Regions from separate parts of the Homo sapiens genome. Here regions 1, 2, 3, 4, 5 and 6 are each linked to region 7. The links are contacts of gene promoters, found by promoter capture Hi-C in blood cells and fetal thymus (Javierre and others, 2016). All regions are on one chromosome and are shown on one strand. Each heading gives the region's core, a stretch centred on a gene start or on the middle of the fragment in contact. The rest is flanking DNA. Distances are from core to core; before and after follow the strand shown. Region 1 overlaps ETF1 (eukaryotic translation termination factor 1). Region 2 has its middle 18 kb from the start of HSPA9. Region 3 holds the start of EGR1 (early growth response 1). Region 4 has its middle 72 kb from the start of HSPA9. Region 5 holds the start of KDM3B (lysine demethylase 3B). Region 6 overlaps ETF1 (eukaryotic translation termination factor 1). Region 7 holds the start of MATR3 (matrin 3).

Evidence for each region. Contacts are between HindIII fragments. The CHiCAGO score rates a contact against its expected background, and 5 or more counts as called.
Region 1: a fragment that was not itself captured here is called in contact with the fragment with the promoter of MATR3 in region 7 in 3 of 17 cell types (erythroblasts, monocytes and megakaryocytes); the score reaches 6.0 in erythroblasts.
Region 2: a fragment that was not itself captured here is called in contact with the fragment with the promoter of MATR3 in region 7 in 1 of 17 cell types (endothelial precursors); the score reaches 5.4 in endothelial precursors.
Region 3: a contact is called between the fragment with the promoter of EGR1 here and the fragment with the promoter of MATR3 in region 7, in 5 of 17 cell types (erythroblasts, monocytes, naive CD8 T cells and 2 more). The highest score is 7.7, in erythroblasts.
Region 4: a fragment that was not itself captured here is called in contact with the fragment with the promoter of MATR3 in region 7 in 1 of 17 cell types (megakaryocytes); the score reaches 6.1 in megakaryocytes.
Region 5: the fragment with the promoter of KDM3B here is called in contact with the fragment with the promoter of MATR3 in region 7 in 2 of 17 cell types (fetal thymus and naive CD4 T cells); the score reaches 6.8 in fetal thymus.
Region 6: a contact is called between a fragment that was not itself captured here and the fragment with the promoter of MATR3 in region 7, in 4 of 17 cell types (naive CD8 T cells, erythroblasts, naive CD4 T cells and 1 more). The highest score is 7.3, in naive CD8 T cells.

What each region holds. Positions count from the first base shown.
Region 1 is chr5:138,512,414-138,515,201 of GRCh38, forward strand. It overlaps ETF1 (eukaryotic translation termination factor 1), which reads right to left. Exons shown (of 11, transcript NM_004730.4): 5 at 1,155-1,293; 6 at 351-541. Among named protein-coding and RNA genes, the nearest start is that of ETF1, 29 kb to the right of the region's middle. The HindIII fragment of the contact is 182 bases long and covers 1,332-1,513 here.
Region 2 is chr5:138,591,499-138,594,322 of GRCh38, forward strand. No RefSeq gene overlaps it. Among named protein-coding and RNA genes, the nearest start is that of HSPA9, 18 kb to the left of the region's middle. The HindIII fragment of the contact is 2,000 bases long and covers 458-2,457 here.
Region 3 is chr5:138,464,043-138,466,955 of GRCh38, forward strand. It overlaps EGR1 (early growth response 1), which reads left to right and starts at 1,437. Exons shown (of 2, transcript NM_001964.3): 1 at 1,437-2,026; 2 at 2,715-2,913. The coding sequence starts at 1,720. RefSeq lists silencers at 41-310, 631-1,030, 1,041-1,390, 1,481-1,690 and enhancers at 223-1,422, 495-1,335, 1,336-2,175. The HindIII fragment of the contact is 6,642 bases long and covers 1-2,913 here.
Region 4 is chr5:138,645,705-138,648,557 of GRCh38, forward strand. No RefSeq gene overlaps it. Among named protein-coding and RNA genes, the nearest start is that of HSPA9, 72 kb to the left of the region's middle. The HindIII fragment of the contact is 1,969 bases long and covers 454-2,422 here.
Region 5 is chr5:138,351,085-138,353,959 of GRCh38, forward strand. KDM3B (lysine demethylase 3B) reads left to right here and starts at 1,601. Exons shown (of 24, transcript NM_016604.4): 1 at 1,601-1,903. The coding sequence starts at 1,712. RefSeq lists silencers at 1,301-1,380, 1,401-1,640, 1,721-2,190 and an enhancer at 2,441-2,540. The HindIII fragment of the contact is 3,421 bases long and covers 1-2,875 here.
Region 6 is chr5:138,529,186-138,531,898 of GRCh38, forward strand. The region is part of intron 2 of ETF1 (eukaryotic translation termination factor 1); the gene reads right to left. Among named protein-coding and RNA genes, the nearest start is that of ETF1, 13 kb to the right of the region's middle. The HindIII fragment of the contact is 1,994 bases long and covers 459-2,452 here.
Region 7 is chr5:139,292,265-139,295,138 of GRCh38, forward strand. It overlaps MATR3 (matrin 3), which reads left to right and starts at 1,476. Exons shown (of 15, transcript NM_018834.6): 1 at 1,476-1,541. It overlaps LOC124901081 (a long non-coding RNA gene), which reads right to left and starts at 1,293. Exons shown (of 4, transcript XR_007058956.1): 1 at 1,010-1,293. RefSeq lists enhancers at 1,548-2,251, 2,252-2,874. The HindIII fragment of the contact is 8,607 bases long and covers 1-2,874 here.

The DNA.
Region 1 (2,788 bases), core at 173-2,672, 780 kb before region 7:
CTGCTATGTATCTCCAAGAATAAATCAGAAAAAGAAAATAAGGAACAGGTTTTAGTTTCTTTGAAATCAAACTCCATTCTACAGCCAATTCTGACAACCCAACTAAACAAGGAACCTCCACAGGATCCATAAGAAGCCCACCTAAAAATGGTTGATTTCAGAAGAGAAGGGGTTCAGAAAAGCACAGGGGAATGTTTCCTGATAAACATCTGTAAACCTGCTGTTTAACTCAGAGGCAAGTTTTTAACCCAAGGAATTTTAAAAAGATGTGTCTGTTCCAGTGCTCACACAGAGGACTCACCTACTCCTACCTAGGGTCTTACATAATAAAGCATCTACTTCTTACTTACCTGATCAAACATATCAGATTGACTTAGTTCAGTTTTAAAGTCAGCGGATCCAGCTAAAACTAGACCAGCCACATTCACTTTGTCCCCAGAAATAAACAGCTGCACAGCAGTCTCTGCTACTTTCCGAACATAGTTATGTCGCTTTTCCATTCTTAAACGGGCAAAACGCAAGGCTGACTGACCTCCTCTACCTTTGACACAAAAGTAGCAAGAGAAAAAGGCAATTATTAAGAACTACAAGATGTCTTCAAATTAAAAATAAAATAATCATGTCATCATCTAAGAAAAGGACAAAGAAAAATCACCATTCCCTTAACTAAACGTTCAGCATAAACTGCTACTTGTTTTCAGAGAGCGACTACTAAGTCTATGTCAAGAGAGGAGCTGTAAGTACCAATGAGGCACCAGTCATTACAGGAGGCTTCTCTCCCCATCATCTGGATTCACTCCCCTCACATCATACTGTTTTCTCTCTCTCTCTTTTTTGAGACAGAGTCTCACTCTGTCGCCCAGACTGGAGTGCAGTGGCGCAATCTTGGCTCAATGCAACCTCCGTCTCCCGGGTTCAAGCAATTCTCCTGCCTCAGCCTCACAAGTAGCTGGGATTACAGGCGCCCGTCACATTTTTGTATTTTTAGTAGAGACAGGGCCGGGCTGGTCTCGAACTTCTGACTTCGTGATCCACCCGGCTCGGCCTCCCAAAGTGCTGGGATTACAGGCGTGAGCCACCGCACCCGGCCCACCATACTGTTTTCTTATTGCTAGACACAAAGTAAGTGGGTTCATGTTCTCCTCCTGTATTACCGTGTTTCTTTGGGAGATCCACAGTGAATTTGTGCAGGACTTCTCTTGTGTTTCCTTGGAGTGTGCCAAAAAGTGCACCACTACCATCTATTACAATGAATCCAAACTTGCTATCATCTGAAAGTAGTGCTGTAAGAGCCTGAAAAGCAAACACAAGTACCACACGGTGAATCCCAAAGCTTTGCTAAGGTCAAAAAAACTCTGAAAGGATATATACAAGCCCTTTCACTCCACTCACCATGCTATTAGCACTGTGGGAAAACCTTCTACGGAATAATTTATAGACTTCAGTTATAAACATGTAACTCTTATGGACAAATTTGAACCCAATAAGGAAATAACGAATGATATCTATGTGAAGCTTTTCAACACATTTGACATGGGCATGTAAATATAAAACCAGAAAGATATCTGTATGCCCATGTTTATAGCAATATTACATACAGCAGTTAATACTACTCAATCTCAAAAAGGAAGAAAATTTTGAAACACACTACAACAGGGATGAAACTTGAATACATGCTAAGTGAAATAACCCTGTCAAAAAAGGACAAATACTGTATGACTCCACTTATATGAGGTTCCTGGAGTAATCAAAATCAGAGACAAAAAGTCAAATGGTGGTTGCCAGGGGCTGGAAAAAAGGGGGAACAAGGAATTATTGCTCAATGGATACAGTTTCAGTTTTATAATATAGAGTTCTAAGCTGGGTATGATGGCTCACACATGTAATCCCAGCACTATGGGAGGCTGTGGCAGGCAGATGGCTTGAGCTCAGGAGTTTGAGACTGGCCTGGGCAACATAGCGAAACACTGTCTCTACAAAAAAATACAAAAATTAGGTGGCTGTGGTGACACGTGCCTGTAGTCCCTACCAGCTACTTGGAAAGGCTTTAGTCTGGGAGGTGTAGGTTGCAGTGAGCCAAGATTGTGCCAGTGTACTCCAGCCTGGGTGATCCAGAGACCTTGTCTCAAAAAACAAAAAAACTTTAACTTGTTCCTTTTTTTTTTTTTTTTGAGACAGGGTCTCACTTTGCTGGCCAGGCTGGAGTGCAGTAGCCATCATAGCTCACTGCAGCCTCGAAGTCTTGGACTCAAATGATCCTTCTGCCTTAGCCTCCCAAAGTGCCGGGGTTACAGGCATGAGCCAGCATGTCTTTAAAGGTATTGCAGCTAATGATTCTGAGTTTTATGAGGAAAACCTTCCTTCTATGTTAACTTTATATCCCTTTATGCCTTCCCAAAGAGAAAATATTGAAACAGTCCTGGGACATACATAGATAAGAGTTCTCACAGTGGAATCGGAATACTACACACTTAGTTGATCTCTAATTGCCAGGGGACAATCTCTTTGGAAGTAAGAAATTGTTACCCATTCCATTTTATTTTTATAAACTGATCCTCCTCTTTGGCCTCCCAAAGTGCTGGGATTACATAGGTGTGAGCCACAACACCTGGCCTTACCATTCCATTTTAAGAAAATAGCCCCTTCAATAATTGACTAGAAAGCAGATGGATCAACTAAGAATCCATCTTTAACAAACCATGCTAGATAGTTGGCATTAAGACATGAATATTGTGGCCGGGCGTGGTGGCTCATGCCTGCAATGGCACTTTGAGAGGCCAAGGTGGGT
Region 2 (2,824 bases), core at 208-2,707, 700 kb before region 7:
CGAGATGGTGCCATTGCACTCCAGCCTGGGTGACAAGAGTGAAACTCTGTCTCAAAAAAAAAAAAACAAAAAAAAACCCAGAGTTGGGTGTGGTGGTGCACACCTGTAGTGCTGAGAAGAGGATCACTGGAGCCCAGGAGTTCAAGGCTGTAGTGTGCAATGATGGTGTGCCTGTGAATAGCCACCACACTCCAGCCTGGGTGACATAGTGAGATCCATTCTCTTAAAAAAGAAAAAAATCTCCCAGCTTCCTGCTGGTCCCTTCAACCTCCTTATATCGGCAACCCTTCCTTGATAGATTCACTGCAGCAACACGGGCCTTCTTTCGGGTCCTTGAAGTGTTGCTTCTGCACTTCCATAGGCCCTCACTTCTCCCTAGATCACTTTCTCCCCACCAGCCAGTTGTCTAACCCTATTTAGCCTTCAGGTCCCAACATAAATGTCACTTGTATAGGCAAGCTTCTCCAGCCCCCAGAATAGATTAGATTCCTAAGGCCTAGGCCAGTCCTGCATATTATCTTCCACAGCACTGTCTACACCTATAATACTTTTTTTTGTTTTTTGAGATGGAGTCTCACTCTGTCGCCCAGGCTGGAGTGCAGTGGTGCAATCTCGGCTCACTGCAGCCTCTGCTTTCCAGGTTCAAGTGATTCTCCTGCCTCAGTCTCCTGAGTAGCTGGGATTACAGGCACCTGCCACCATGCTCAGCTAATTTTTGTATTTTTAGTAGAGACGGGGTTTTGCCACGTTGGGCATGGTGGTCTCAAACTCCTGACCTCAGGTGATCTGCCCACCTTGGCTCCCAAAGTGTTGGGATTACAGGCGTAAGCCACTGTGCCTGGCCTATAAGCTACTTTTTAGTAAAAAATTATTTAGTATTTATCTTCTCTAGTGTTTTGATTCTTCATGTATGCAGGGACTATGTCTGTTTTGTTCAAATTTTTATTGCCAAAACCTGGCCCAACATCTGACACCTAGGAGCTGTTCAGTAAACATTCATCGATTGGCCGCCTGCTTGCCATCTCAATCATGAAGTTGCCCTGCTGTTCATTCATGTATTGGTTTAATGTTGTTTCTCTATTGTTTATATGTTTATGCTTGTCTGTTTAATGTTAACTGTCTTAAGTAGTACATTTCTAAGGGGCTAGAATCCATGTATAGAATTTTCTTTGTATGGTGTTTTGTATGTGGGTGTAAGCGTATGTATCTCATTCCCCAACTGTAGGGAAAGAATGAGGAGGTATTGAGAGGCCGAGGCAGGCAGATCACCTGAGGTCAGGAGTTCGAGACCAGCCTGGCCAACATGGTGAAACCCCGTCTCTACTAAAAATACAAAAATTAGCTGGACGCGGTGGCACGTGCCTGTAATCCCAGCCACTGGGGAGGCTGAGGCAGGGGAATCCCTTGAACCTGGGAGGCGGAGGTTGCAGTGAGCCAAGATTGTGCCACTGCACTCCGGCCTGGGCAACAGGGTGAGACTCTGGCTCAAAAAAAAAAAAAAAAAAAAGAGGTAAAATTGAGAAGATGGCAGCAAGTGTTACCATGGAGGAGACTCTGAAACTCAGTCGAGATGACTTCTGAGTCCTTATGGTATTCCTGAAGATGGGCAGGGTTGGGGGCAGGACTGAGGGAGTTTTATGATGTTGTTAAAAGTGGCTGTACTCAGAACTGTGCTATATACTGCAGAGTAACAGGAGGAGGGAAGAGAGAGTCTTCAGGAAATGAAGAAGAAAGAGGAGAAGTGGGCTGAGCTGGAAGCCTCATTTTCCACAAGGACACTGAAACATTGTTAAGCCAAGGAGAACTGTTAGCTCTGACAATAGCTCCTCTTCTTATGAGTCCTTTGGTGTTTTAATTATTTTTAAAATAAAGATTGAAGAACAACTTTTATAACTGCAACTGGAACAATGACAAGCAGTACTGATGGGGTATAATCATAACAGAAACTTTGTTTTCAGCTCCCACTGTTTCTTCTTTTCTTTTTTTTTTTTTCAAGACAGAGTCTTGCTCTGTTGCCGAGGCTGGAGTGCAGTGGTGTGATCTTGGCTCACTGCAATCTCTGCCTCCAGGGTTCAAGCAATTTTCTTGCCTCAGCCTCTTGAGTAGCTGGGATTACAGGTGCCTGCCACCATGCCCAGCTATTTTTTTTTTTTTTAGTAGAGACGGGATTTCGCTGTGTTGGCCAGGCTGGTCTCGAACTCCTAACCTCAAGCAATCTGCCCACCTCGGCCTGCCAAAGTGTTGAGATCACAGGCGTGAGCCACTGCGCCTGGCCCCACTGTTTCTTTAAACCTGCTTTGTAGTGATGGTCTTAAGTGTGCTCCTGGACAAATACTTTTCAGGATCCCTTGGAGGTGTTAGGAAGCCTTATAGCCACTGTACGCAGTACAGCATGATTTCAATTAGGCACTTAAAATGTTCAGCTTGGTATTATCAATGTTTCTGCTTGGTTTTCGAAGCTTAAGCTATTTGCTATTTGTCCTTCCTATCTGGGGCCTGCTGCAAATGAAAAGAAAGGGTGTAGTCTTTCTCTTCTGAAGTTTCTGATCCTTCTAGAATTAGAGCACAAGAAACTAAGAGGCGACAGAAAATATGGTACTTGTCTCATGTCAAAGCTGGCTTTGCACTCTCCTACCTCCCAGTGTGGCCAGTGTTTAAATCTAGCTTTCTCATAAAGCACTTTTGTGGGTTCTTCAGAGATCTGCGCACACACACACACACACACACACACACACTGCTGCTGCTGCTGCTGCTGCTGCTGCTGCTGCTGCTGCTGCTGCTGCTGCAGCAGTTCCCAGTGGCCTGGGCAAGTGGACTCCCCTCT
Region 3 (2,913 bases), core at 187-2,686, 830 kb before region 7:
GGCTCGGGGTGAGGAGTGTTATCCCGGAGTCTGGGCGCCTCGGCAGTGACGGCTCCCCAGGGACTGCAGGGGGAGCCCGGGCTGCAGCGCCTGCTCAGTTCGTGCTCACTGCGTCGAAGGCTCCCCCGGCCTGGCTCCGCGCCCAGCGCCGCATCCGGGAGGAGGAGCGAGGAGGCGGCGGAAGAGCCCGCGCGGCCGGAGTCCGGGGCTGGGAGTGGAGAGGGAACCTCCAGGGGGCAGCACCGAGCCGCCAAGCCGGTCCTCTCTTCGCGCCCAGCCCGGGGTCCCCAGACAGCCCATAGGGAAGCCCCTCTTTCGGATTCCCGCAGTGTGGGCCGGCCCTCCACCTGGACTGGATAAAGGGGGGAAAGTGACCCCTCACCACAAGGACCATTATCTCCTGGTGAGAACAAGAATCAGGCCTCTCTTGGGGCAATCAGCTTCCCCACTTCGGTCCCCCAAAGGTGGGCTCTTTGCCGGCGGGGACTAGGGAACAGCCTTTCGGTTCCGGGGGAGCACAGGGGACCCCAGGCACCAGCAGCCCCATCCCACCGACAGGTGGCAGAGGCAAGGCAGCTCACTGCTATACAGTGTCCCAAGAACCAAGTGGCCGTGACTTCCTATCCTCAATTTCCCAGCGACACCCGGAAAGACACCGTGCCATAGATCGAGGCCCGGGGTCAAGGCCCCGCCTCTCCTGGGCGGCCCCTGCCCAGGCGGGCCCAGCCGCTCCTCCCCCGCACTCCCGGTTCGCTCTCACGGTCCCTGAGGTGGGCGGGCGGGCCCTGGATGACAGCGATAGAACCCCGGCCCGACTCGCCCTCGCCCCCGCTCTGGGTCTGGGCTTCCCCAGCCTAGTTCACGCCTAGGAGCCGCCTGAGCAGCCGCGCGCCCAGCGCCACACGCCACGAGCCCTCCCCGCCTGGGCGTCCCCGGATCCCGCGAGCGCTCGGGCTCCCGGCTTGGAACCAGGGAGGAGGGAGGGAGCGAGGGAGCAACCAGCTGCGACCCGGAAATGCCATATAAGGAGCAGGAAGGATCCCCCGCCGGAACAACCCTTATTTGGGCAGCACCTTATTTGGAGTGGCCCGATATGGCCCGGCCGCTTCCGGCTCTGGGAGGAGGGAAGAAGGCGGAGGGAGGGGCAACGCGGGAACTCCGGAGCTGCGCGGGTCCCGGAGGCCCCGGCGGCGGCTAGAGCTCTAGGCTTCCCCGAAGCCTGGGCGCCTGGGATGCGGGCGCGGGCGCGGGCCCTAGGGTGCAGGATGGAGGTGCCGGGCGCTGTCGGATGGGGGGCTTCACGTCACTCCGGGTCCTCCCGGCCGGTCCTGCCATATTAGGGCTTCCTGCTTCCCATATATGGCCATGTACGTCACGACGGAGGCGGACCCGTGCCGTTCCAGACCCTTCAAATAGAGGCGGATCCGGGGAGTCGCGAGAGATCCCAGCGCGCAGAACTTGGGGAGCCGCCGCCGCCATCCGCCGCCGCAGCCAGCTTCCGCCGCCGCAGGACCGGCCCCTGCCCCAGCCTCCGCAGCCGCGGCGCGTCCACGCCCGCCCGCGCCCAGGGCGAGTCGGGGTCGCCGCCTGCACGCTTCTCAGTGTTCCCCGCGCCCCGCATGTAACCCGGCCAGGCCCCCGCAACTGTGTCCCCTGCAGCTCCAGCCCCGGGCTGCACCCCCCCGCCCCGACACCAGCTCTCCAGCCTGCTCGTCCAGGATGGCCGCGGCCAAGGCCGAGATGCAGCTGATGTCCCCGCTGCAGATCTCTGACCCGTTCGGATCCTTTCCTCACTCGCCCACCATGGACAACTACCCTAAGCTGGAGGAGATGATGCTGCTGAGCAACGGGGCTCCCCAGTTCCTCGGCGCCGCCGGGGCCCCAGAGGGCAGCGGCAGCAACAGCAGCAGCAGCAGCAGCGGGGGCGGTGGAGGCGGCGGGGGCGGCAGCAACAGCAGCAGCAGCAGCAGCACCTTCAACCCTCAGGCGGACACGGGCGAGCAGCCCTACGAGCACCTGACCGCAGGTAAGCAGTGGCCTACGCCGAGGGGGAACCCTTTCGCCACCATCCTGGCGTCCTGTCCTTCACCGCAGGAGTGCTCCTGGATCTTAGAATGAGAGCCGGGTTTCCCTTTCATTCCTCGCATCCCCAGAGTCATGTGTTAGAGGGATGCCAAGGAACCCCACACAGCCCACCCCCTGCCCTCATCCCTAGCGGAGCGCAGAGGACCGAGCTTTTGTTTTGGATGGAGAGCTCTGGAGCTGCGTGGGTGGGTGGAGGGGGAGGGCTTGTTTTGATGAGCGGGGCTGCGCCCCCCACCTCCAGTAAGACTTGCCTTGCCTTGCTTGCCGCCTGTCCCCAAGGAAGGACCGTGATCCTTGGCCGTGGATGTCCCGGCAGCCCGGGTTTGGGGGCGCGCACTAGCCGCGGCCATGGGGGTGCTGGCGGGAATCCCTCGCCCGCACAGCCGCCGCTGCGGAGCGCTGCGAGCTGCAGTGGAGGGGGATTCTCCGTATTTGCGTCAGCTGTTGTTGAAATGGGCTCTGCCACTGGTGCGGGTCCAGGAACATTGCAATGTGCTGCTATCAATTATTAACTACCTCGGGAGTCAATGGTAGCCGGCCCGGTCTCTTGCCTGGCAGCTCGGGTCGTCCTCGTCCTCCAGTGATTGCTTTCCAGTAACCAGGCCTCCCGCTTCTCTCTCTCCTGCCAGAGTCTTTTCCTGACATCTCTCTGAACAACGAGAAGGTGCTGGTGGAGACCAGTTACCCCAGCCAAACCACTCGACTGCCCCCCATCACCTATACTGGCCGCTTTTCCCTGGAGCCTGCACCCAACAGTGGCAACACCTTGTGGCCCGAGCCCCTCTTCAGCTTGGTCAGTGGCCTAGTGAGCATGACCAACCCACCGGC
Region 4 (2,853 bases), core at 188-2,687, 650 kb before region 7:
CCAGAGTAGGCTCAGAGAGACTCCCAAACCGCTTTAAAAAAAAAAAAAAATTGACACAGTGCCAGTCTTGGTGCAAGCACATGATGTATATGGTACTATTAAATCCTAAGAATTCATCATATTATCCCGATTTTCAGCTAAAGAAACAATCTGAGCAAGAAGTGACTTCACCAAGGTCATGGAGTCTTAGAAAATGACCAAGCCAGGAGCCAAACACTCTTCTCTCCAATTCCAACCAATCAGCAGCCTGTGCTGCTGATTCCTTGGCAAGATTGCCTCCCAAGGGGACCATGGTAGAGCAAGCAGTGGTGATGGAGGAGGGTCCCGTTGGCCTTTGAAAGCAGGAGAACCCTTGCCCGTGGGCTGGGCCAGGAGCTGCAGCATCTGGCATGCTGGGAAATTGTGGAGGAGCCCTCCTTTGCCCCCACTCCATCCCCACCTGACAGGGAAGGAAGCTTTGATGCTGTTTTCTCGCCCACAGGGGACTGGGGTTTGTAAAACAAACTCACAGCCTGCAGGAAAACAGATCCTGGAACAGCCCAAACAGAAAGGCAGGGGCTGCTTGCTGTGGCCCAAAGCCCCTGCCTCCCTGCTCAGTCTCAGATGTGTGCCTCCACCTTGGCATTCTGTCTGGGCTTCCTGTCAGTCCCCGCTCTCTCTCCATCCTCACTGTGAATCTTGCAGGGCTACAGTTGCCTTGGTAACATGATGGGAAGCTCTTGAGGTTTTCTGGAACCAGAGAAGGCTGTGGAGGGAGGACTCAGGCTCTGTTGGGCTGCTTGTCACAAAGGGAAGAAACCACTCCAGTGCTCCTGCCCCTGCCAGTCCTTCCTTGGGTCTGACCTCAACCTCTTCTGTTGCATCTGCAGGAGCTTTGTTTGGGTGGCCTATAGGGCTGGGCCTGAGAGGAGGGAGCTGTCACATACTGCTCTGTCCTTGGAGTTGACTGCCACTGTCACCAGAGCTAAATTCCTACTTGCTACCATGACCTGGCCCTGTAGCCCTAATTGGTTTTATGAAGTTCAATGCCTGTTTTTTATGAGACAGATAATTATGATGCGGGGAGGTCAGGTCCTCCTCTGCTGGACCTGGCGGGGTCTCCAGAATTGCTGATTCTCCAATCGGCTCCAGGCAGACTGATGGGATCAGGGTGAGCCGAGTGCAGCCAGGCTGTGGAAGGAGAGCGAGTCTCCACTTTCCAGTCTCTGACGGGATCAGGGAGGAAAACGTGCACCGCCTGCCCCGTGAAGAAGCCCATGCCTGTGAAGTGGGCACCTGTGATGCCGTCCCTCGTGGGTATGAGGGATAACAGGCAGTGGGGTGGGAGGGGCAGCTCTCTCAGGCTAGAGGAATCCAACATGGGGCTGCCTGCGGCTCCGCGAAGAAATCCTCAATCTTTGACACTACGGGCACCCCGTGAAGATGTTTTTTTCCTCCATCTCTCCTTCTAGTCTTCTTCCTTTCCTTTCTCCCACAGTCTCAGTTCGAAATATGGCCTATTTCTTCCCTATGTCTATGTCAGTTTCCGTAACTGGTATCTCTCCCTGCCCCCCAATCCGCCCCCACCCTCCCCAGGTGAGAGTTGACTTGCTGTGCCCTGGAGGGCAGTTCTAGGAGGGTGGAGATGGAGGGGAGGGCAGGGCAAGCTGTTCTGCTGACACTGGATGGCTCCCCTCCGATCCTCCTGGTCAGGAAGACCGCGGCAGGTAGAGGCTTCCATGCTTCGCTCCAGGCTGGGAGCAGCTGTCCACAATTGTGCCTCCCAGATGGGGTGAGAGGTTGGCCCCATCCCTAGAACAGGCCACACAGCTGTGTGCCCTGTGTGTTTGACCCACTCATGGCAGACACAGAACTGCACTTTCAGACTAAGCCAGTTGTTGGGTGTGGCTGTGGGACAGGATGACCTCAGGAAGACCCTTACACATTCCACAGATTACCAAGTTCCCAGCTTCCCTTGCTTTCTGACTCAGTGGCCAATTCCTCAGGAGTTGCCTTCTCTTTAGAGTAAGGCCAATCTTGCAGGAAAGAAGGGAGGAGTGAGACTGGGGCCCAGGTAAGAAGGGCCTGGGGTCCCTGACTGCAGAGGCCAGCTCCTCTCTATCCCTCCTCCATTTAATTAGCTAATGTCTGTAAAGGGCTGGGCAATGGAAAAGCCCTATACAAATGTTGAGCACAATTTCATTTCCAAGACTAGACAAGAATATATTTGCAGACTTGAGCAAAAGGTCACTGGGCCTGCCTGGGACAGAGGGAGGACTCCCTGCAGGCCCCAGAGGGAGGATGACCCTGAAAGACTGGGGCAGGAGAAGGAGAGGCCACAGTGGGGGCCGGCATGCCTGCCTCCTTGGTCTTTAAGCTGGGTCTCTTGGTACCATGCCTGCCTTGCACTGTCCCCGTTCCTTGTGAATCCCAGGGTCCTAGAAGCTTACCCCTCTCTGCAGGGACCACCCTCAGAGACTTTCCACCAGAAGATTATGCTAATATCCACAACAGCTGATGTTTATTGAGTATTCACTGCATGCCAGGCTGTGCTAGAGGCCAGAGTGCTCCGGCTTGGGGAGACGTGGCTGCCTCTCTGCAGCAGGTGAAGGAGCTTTTCCAGTGAGGGAGCCCCTGCATGCTGCAGACTCTGCCTGAAATCTCTCCGAAACCTTTGGGAGATTGGTATCACTTATCTTCTCTGACCAATGAGAACAGTTCCTGGTTTTGTGATCTCCCAAGTCCCTGGTGTGGATGTTCTGTGAGCTTCTGAATTCTCCTCTCCTTTCCCCACTGACAACTCACCTGGCCCTACACTCATTATGAAAGAATATTGAGGCCAATTAGCCTTGACAAGCTTCATGCCCAAGGGGC
Region 5 (2,875 bases), core at 351-2,850, 940 kb before region 7:
AGGTACATTTCTGTCTCTCTGCTGTGAGAAACTAGCCTTGGACATTGGGGCAGTAGTTAAATCTCTGTATGGGAGAAAATCCCAGCAGATAATTTTGATAGAAAAATTGCAAGGCAGATAGATCTTGTATGGATTCACCCTTGTTCCCCTCCTACCAACTACAGCTTATGGGCCATGTGCTTTAAGAGGTGGCTCTCAGCCCAGAAAAACATTCTGAGTCAGGCCTCAGGTTGGCTGTGGGAGATGGAAGTTAAAAAGAAGTGGAGGGAGGAATGTTTCCTTGGTGCTCCACAGGGTTGGTTCTAGAATGATTTTCCTATATGTTTTATACTTTAGTAAAAGTATAAAGTCAATAGTTGGTTACCCCTCTCCCCAAGCCTTTGTTACAAGAAAAGTAGGTCAAGGGTGTAGACAAGGTTATGGACAGGAGATAGCTGGGGTAGGCACAGAAGCCTTGGAGAAAGAACCAGCTACCACTATTTCCTGTCTGTAGGGAAAATCAAAAAGTCACTTTTAGAACAACAGTCATGGGTTATTACTATACCCTTTATCTTTTGTATCCATTTTGTGTATACTCAGTCTCTGCATCCATGAGACCATGGAATGTGCTAGTCCCTGATATTGCCAGCTTTAAATGATTGAGGCAATTTCCTGTTGCTTATTGTGGGTAACAATCTAGCCAAAAATCTCAGCATCTCACTTTCTCTGCAGGCTCCTTTTCTAATCAGGAGCTATCAGTCTCCCACACCTGTATTAAATGCATTCAGATAAGAGTTACAGAATTTTCTTTGCCCCCAGCCCCACTAATTCCATGGTAAGATGGAGTGCTACTAAGAGAACCCCTTTACTGTTGGTCTATTTCCAGTTCCCCTAAGAGTTGAATGGAGAAACACGTAGACTTAATAACATTGGCAGACTAGGAAGGGGAAGAAGTTAGGTCGGTTTTAGGAAAAACACCAAGATGTTGGGGGGCACGTTGGCCTTCAGTCAGTGGAAAGAGTGGCATTATACATCCAATGGAAGTAATACATTGGCCAATTGGAAAGGAACCTAAGAAGTGCTGGCAGTATAGAATGGGATGGTGCTGTTATGGGCCATTGAGAAGGAAGACATTGTGTCTCATGGACCAATGGGGAGAACATTTCCTACAAGACAGCAGGTAGGAGCTCATATTTTCAGGATAGGAAATCAATGGGGGTATTGGAGACACTAAATAGCTCAAAACATCCACTCTCTAGGTACCTTGCCCCTCACCCCCTTACCCCGTAAATGTCTTTGGTATCCGAGGAGAGCAAGCTAAAGCCCTCTCATATATACGACTCCCTGAAGGAAGATTGAGACCAGGGATGATGCCATGGGGAAGCTGAAGGACCCGCCCACTTCCCTACCCCGGCCGGACCTGCAATTCCCCTCCAGACCGCAGGGGGCACTGCAGGCCCCGGGGAGATTGGGGCGGAGCGCTGCGAGGGGCCAGGAGCTGTCGCCCCGCTCCAGAGCGCGGGGGGCGCTGTGCGGGGCCCAGGCTGCGGCTCCGCTCCCGGCCACGGGGGGCGCTGCGCTGCGCCGGTGGTTGGTGGTGGCTGTTGGGGGGGGTGGGGGGGAACGGCGGCCGCGGGTGGTGCGGAGGGAGGCCTTGCGGGCGGATCGGGCGCTTGGCGGCGGAGGTGGTGGGAGGCGGCGGGCGGGAGCGCGGGTCAGGCCGGCCCCGGCGATGGCGGACGCGGCGGCCTCCCCGGTGGGCAAGCGGCTGCTGCTGCTGTTCGCGGACACTGCGGCCTCAGCCTCGGCCTCGGCTCCCGCGGCGGCAGCGGCGAGCGGAGATCCGGGGCCTGCGCTGCGCACTCGAGCCTGGCGGGCCGGCACGGTGCGGGCCATGAGCGGGGCGGTGCCCCAGGACCTAGCGGTGAGTGGCGGCCGAGTCGGGCACTCGAGGCCGGGGCTGCGGGGCCTGCGGGCGGCCTCCCCGGGGGCCTTTGTGAGGGGGCGGTGGGATGGGGGTGACCCATTTCCGTGCCCCCGGGTCTCCTTAGCGCCCCCCGCCGGCACCTCCGCACCCCGAGCGCTTGCCGGCATGGCTTCCGCGTCGGGGTGTGCGCCCCGGTTTCCCCCGGGGGGCGGCCAGGGCGTCCGGAGCTGCTGCTTGCAGCCAGCAGGCCCCGCCTCCTGGGCGACCCTTTTCTCGGCGTTCCCCCCAACACGCCTTCGGAGCAGGCTCTCGAATCTTGAGCTCCCGGGAGCCTCAGAGTTCGGCCAGTGTTGCCGCTGCCCTCTCGAAGACGCGGACCTGTGGTCCCCAGCCTCTCCCAGGAGACCTGCGCCCTGTTCCTTTTCTCCCAGAGCCCCAAGTGGGGCGGGAATGTGGGCAGTTATGGGAGGCACGGAGGCTGCAGTTGGAGCTGGTCGGGGCTTTTTTATCTGGCAGTTACTTCCTCATCTGAGCTGGGCTCGGCCTGGCGGTCTCCAGAAAGGCCAGCTCTCGGCACTGTCTCGAGCTCTCCTCTCCTTTCCTTAACGCTTCTGGGTGACAGGAGCTGCAGTTGTGGCTGTTTTTGTTAAGTTTGAGATCTTTCTTAGTGGCCGAACGGGGCTGCTGGGTAGTGCTTTTTGCTCCCAGCTCAGCTACTCCCCCAACCTTGGGAGAGGTTTTGTTTTGAAACTTTGTGTTTGGGCTTGGCCCTTTTTGAATGCCTTGGTGTGTTTTGTGATTAAAGTTGTTCAGTCATACAACTTAACTAGCATTCGGGATCATGATGTGTTATTCTCGTTAATGTGGCGGTAAAATATAGTGTTTGAGTTTTGGCAAGCCACTTTATTTCCTCATTTTGATAGGGGCCCTAGCTTCTCTGGTGAGATAAGGCTATGAAAAATGGTGTGT
Region 6 (2,713 bases), core at 206-2,705, 760 kb before region 7:
AACAAGCAGATTAACGTTTTTCCAGTAAAGTTTCCAAACAAGATAAACATTCATTTACCCTCACTCCTGCAAGTCAATCAAAGTTGTTAGACCAGTTTGTGTAAACACCCAAAATAAAATTAAGGAAGCTGAATACTTCCATGTCTTTTAAAGTGAACACCCTTCAGGGGAAAATGAAAAATAAAGCTCTCACTAAGGAGATGCTGGCTACACAGGCAAACTACAACCTTCTTTAACTGTAATAGTTTTCCTTCGTTTTTCTACTATCCCTATACTCCTCTTCCGAAATCAAAGAACTAGTGAATCATGGGGTACAGCAATGTGTCACATGCAGGTTGTAAAAACTGGGCAAAACAAGAGACAACATACAGCAATGTATCCCTCAAAGCTCCCAGGGGCCTCTGCACTCAGATTCTCTTCTTGTTCTCATTGGTTTTAGGGGCACTTTGGCTTATCAAAGCTTTCATCAATGCTTCGCCCAGAGGGTTAACGTCTGAAAAATCAAACAGGTGAAAAAAAGGAATTGTAACAGAACTAAACCAAATAAATCCCAAACAAAACTCAAGTAGAAAGATAATTTTTTTAGAGATGGGGTCTTGCTCTGTCACCCAGACTGGAGTGCAGTGGCACAATCACAGCTCACTGTAACCTGGAAACTCCTGGGTTCAAGTGATCCTCCCACCCTAGCCTGGGACTACAGGTACGCACCACCACGCTCAGCTAATTTTTCTTTTTATTTTCGAGATAGGATCTCACAAGGCTGCCCAGGCTGGTCACGAACTCTTGGGCCCAAACACTCCTCCCACCTCAGACTCACTGAGCAGCTAAGGTTATAGGCGCAAGCGACCGTGCCCGCCTGACCCACAAGGATCTTAATCAATGTTCACCATCATCAACAATGCTCAAGAACACTTCAGTTTGCATACCTCCCAGCCCTGAATCCTTTTAGAGCTTTCTAAAGAAGCAAAATAAAAGAATACATGCTCAGACACAAAAGATCCCTTCTTCCTCCATCCTGACTCAATAGTTTCTGAATAGGGAGAGTGAGGGTGGTGATGATTTTGGTTGAGACAGTCTCAATTTTGAAATATGAAAGATTTTTTTTTTCTCTGAGACAGAGTCTCGCTCTGCCACCCAGGCTACAGTGCAGTGGTGTGATCTCGGCTCACTGCAGCTTCTGCCTGCTGGATTCAAGTGATTCTTCTGCCTCAGCCTCCCAAGTAGCTGGGATACAGGCGCCCACTACCACGCCCAGCTAATTGTTGTATTTTTAGTAGTGATGGGGTTTTGCCATGTTGGCCAGGCTGGTCTCGAACCCCTGATCTCAAATTATCCACCCACCTCAGTCTCCCAAAGTGTTGGGATTACAGGCTTTAGCCACCGCACCCAGCTGATTCTTTTCTTTGAGACAGAGTCTCACTCTTGTCTCCTAGGCTGGAGTGCAGTGGCGCCATCTCTGATCTTTGCAACCTCTGCCTCCCCAGTTCAAGCAATTCTCCTGCCTCAGCCTCCCAAGTAGCTAGGGTTACAGGCACGCGCCACAATGCCTGGCTATTTTTAGTAGAGGCAGGGTTTCACCATGTTGGCCAGGCTGGTCTCGAACTCCTGACCTCAAGTGATCTGTCTGCCTTGGCCTCCCAAAGAATTGGGATTACAGGTGTGAGCGACTGTGCCCGGCCTCAAATACGCAAGATTCTAATGCAGAACTAGGGTTGAGAATCACTGCATCTGGCTTGCTTTCTTCACAGGGTCATCTCTAGGTCTGCTGAAGGTAACAAGCCTCCACAACCTCACCTCCACCCAAAGAAGAAGAACCCAGAGCAGTTGCTTGCTGCATTTACCCTATGCTATGGTTTGAAGGTGTCCCCCCAAATTCATGTGTTGGAAACTTAATCCCCACTGCAATAGTATTGAAAGGTGGGGCATATGGAATGTGTTTAGGTTATGAGGGCTCTGCCCTCATGAATAGATTCATGCTGCTATTTAAAATAAGGTGCTTATAAGACCTGAGAGCTACAGTCACACGCGCACACAAAAAAGATAAAATAAGGTGCTTATAAGTAGTGGGCCATCTCTCTTTTGTTCTCTTGCCATGAGAGGAACAGTGTTCCTCCCCAACAAAGGATGCAGCGTTCAAGGTGCCATCTTAAAAGCAGAGAGCAGGCCCTTACCAGAACACCAATCTGTGGTATTCTGTTATAGCAGCACAAAAACAAAAATCAAAAAACCCCCAAAACCTAAGACAACCTAGCTATAATACAACCATAATGAATTGTGACAGCTCAGAGATACTCAACTTTACCAGCCCGAACACTCACTCCCCCTCAAGTACTCTGCCATCCAAGTCATCACTTGTAAATCACGTTAACTACTTTCAGGTTAGGACCAGGAACGTTTTAGACACTGCTTACTATACTCCCTAACCGGGATGTACAGTACATGCTCCCCAAGAAGCTTTCATCCCAGGGTTTGATGGCTGGGTTGTGCCTAGGCTATGGATGGCCAAATTTTTCACCACTTCCCTTTTCAAGCTCCCATCTGTGCCTGCCTCACAAAGCTCAATTTAAATCTCAGCCAGAGGCCAGGTGCAGTGGTTCACACCTGTAATCCCAGCACTTTGGGAGGCCAAGGTGGGCGGATCACGAGGTCAGGAGATTGAGATCACCCTGGCTAACAGGGTGAAACCCCATCTCTACTAAAAATGCAAAAAAAT
Region 7 (2,874 bases), core at 226-2,725:
CATAACCTTTTAATGTCTCAGTTTTGTGATCTACCAAATGGTATCCCACAGTAGCCGCCTCTCAAGGTTATTGTAGGGTTATGTGTAAACTGCTTATTGCATTGCCCACCTTATAGAAAGCACTCCATATTATAATCATTAACTGTGCTGGAAAATTCCCAACTCTCCAGATGCGGAGTTCTGCAAGGATGGTTGGGGAGAGAGTTGCAGCCAGATTAGGTCTCCAAACAATTTACTTAAGCCTCTGAAGGCCGGAGCTCAAATCCCTCCAACCCGGGTACCTAACCAGTACCTCAGTCCCAAGAGTGTATTGCATTCAGTCAAATTCACCAAAAGGCGGCGGTGGTCTTTAGGAAGGAAAAGGCTCGCGGTCCTCCGCCTCAACGACCCTCCTGCACAGAATTCCTGATTTTAAAAACCAGCTGGCCACTTTGGGAGGCCGAGGCGGGCGGATCACAAGGTCAGGAGATCGAGAGCATCCTGGCTAACACGGTGAAACCCCCGCCTCTATTAAAAATGCAAAAAGAAATTAGCCAGGCGTCGTGGCGGGCGCCTGTAGTCCCAGCTACTCCGGAGGCTGAGGCAGGAGAATGGCGTGAACCCGGGAGGCGGAGTTTGCAGTGAGCCGAGATCGCGCCACTGCACTCCAGCCTGGGTGACAGAGTGAGACTCCGTCTCAAAACAAAAAACAAAACAAAAAAAACAGCTGGCTGGGCGTGTAGGCTCACGCCCTTAATCCAATGCTGAGAGGCGGAGGCGGGAGCACTGCTTGAGCCAAGGAGTTCCAGACCAGCCTAGGCAAAATAACGAGACACCATCTCTACGGAAAAAATAAAAATAAAAAAGTTAGCTGGCCATGGTGGTGCGAGCCTGTAGTCCCAGCTACTGGGGAGGCTGAGGTGGGAGGATCCCTTGAGGATAGGAGTTCGAGGCTGCAATGAGCCATGATAACGCCAGCGCACTCCAACCTGAGCAACACAGTTTATTTATGATAAATAAATAAACATACCTAAATAAAAACCAGCCAAAATGGTATCGTTTTCCCTTTGTGGCCCCAATATCTGGCGCTTTCCACCATTCCTTGGCAAACAGAACAACCAGAGAGCATAAAAGTCGAGTCTAAGCCAGGGACTCTCGCGAATCCCTTCTAAGGCATACCCTATTTAAACTTTGTATTATGCTATTCAGGAGGTTGACAAACAGCCTTTTCGGGAATGGGACTCGAACTCGTAAGCCACGTCTGTTCCTCCATTTCCCGCCTCAGCTGGATGACGGAGAGGGATCTCCGGGATTAAAGAACAACGACCGCAGGCGAGTGCACGAGCGAGGTGCGCGCGCTGAGTAGGGGGAGGGGCCTGGCGCGCGCCGAACCAGATCGAGGGGGTGGGGGCGAGCTCTCTCGCGAGAGTGGGTTTGTTCTTGGGCTGCAGCCGCTGCCGCCGCTTCTCGCCAGCGCCGTTGCTGCGGGGGATTGTGGGAGTCTCCGCGTCCCGCTCGCTGGGAGAGAGGTACCTCTCCTTTTCCCTCTCCCTTTCCCTAAGGTAGGCGTGAAGCGGGTAAGAGTCGGGGTCGGGTGGCTGGGGGTTCTCCGTGTCCGCCGGGAGGGGACAACGACGGCGACAGGGGCTGCGGGGAGCCGGCGGCGCGCCTTTCTTGCTCGCTCCCGCTCTGCCTCCCTCCGCGTTGCGTATGTGAGCCGCCTGATCGGCGGCCGCCATGTTAGGAGCGCAGTGGCGGCGCAACCAGCCTTCTAGGGCGGCGGAGGTGAGCGGTCCGGGAGGGAAACACGCGGCCGGCCAAGGGCCCAGGGTGCGGCGGGAGATTTTGGGTGAAGAGGTGCGCTGACCGGCCGAGCTTCCTGCGCGTCCTGGGCTCGTTGTGGGCGGGGGCGGGACGACTAGCCCGTTACACGCGGGCCGCGGCGCTGAGGGGGAGGGAGGAGCTCGCTCGAGGCCTGAGGGACAGACTGTACACTGGGGGCTTGCCGTTTGAGGAGGATGGTTAAGATATCTAAGTCCTTGGGTAGCGCCAGTGCCAAATAACCCGTTCGCCTTTTTTTCTCTGAAAATGTTCCCCCAAAATGGAGGATTTCGCAGACTCTGAAGAGCCTGCTTGTTTGAGCAGCGTTTCTTTCTTTTCCCGGTGTCTCGGCCTTCACGCCGCTCCTTGCCCATCGCCTCAGAGCGCCCCCTAAGACTCCCGGCCCACACGCGCGCGCGCGCGCGGCGTTAGCTGGACATCAGAAACAATTCCTCCCCGCCCCCCATCGCGTAAAAATGGCCGAAAAATGAAACGTTAACGCTTGTTTTTCGTACTGCGTCGTGGAACAAGCCGCCTGCAGTACAGTGCGAGGCGGGTGATTTGCACTTGTTTAGTCAAGTCACCTCACATCCTTTTTCTCTTTATCAAAATAGTATTAGTCCAGGTTCCTCCAGAGAGGATCGTGTGGTGTGGGACCTTCCGGTTTCCAGACAAAGGGTTTTGGAGTACCGTGGTGTAGTCGCCGCATCGTTCTTTGCATTTCGAGCTCTGTGCCATGTTCTGTGTTCGGCATTTACCGTGGATGAATATCCCCTAGGTGTTTATCCTGCTCTGTGGCCCTGTTCTGTGGAATATTCCTATTGGATCAGTTACAGTTTTTTAGCCAGATATTTCTAGAACGGTTATGGTGGTTCTGAAATGGCTAGTCTTTCGGGCGCGCTGGAATAATGTGAAGAATCGTTGATTTCGTAGGTAGGGGTCACGAGATTTTGTATTGGTACTGCGTTCTGTGTTTTAAACCTTGGCTTAAGATTTCTGAATAGTCGGTAAAATACATTTTTCTCCCAGGGAAATCTAAACAGTTGACTATGCGGACAAAAATGATGTTTCAGG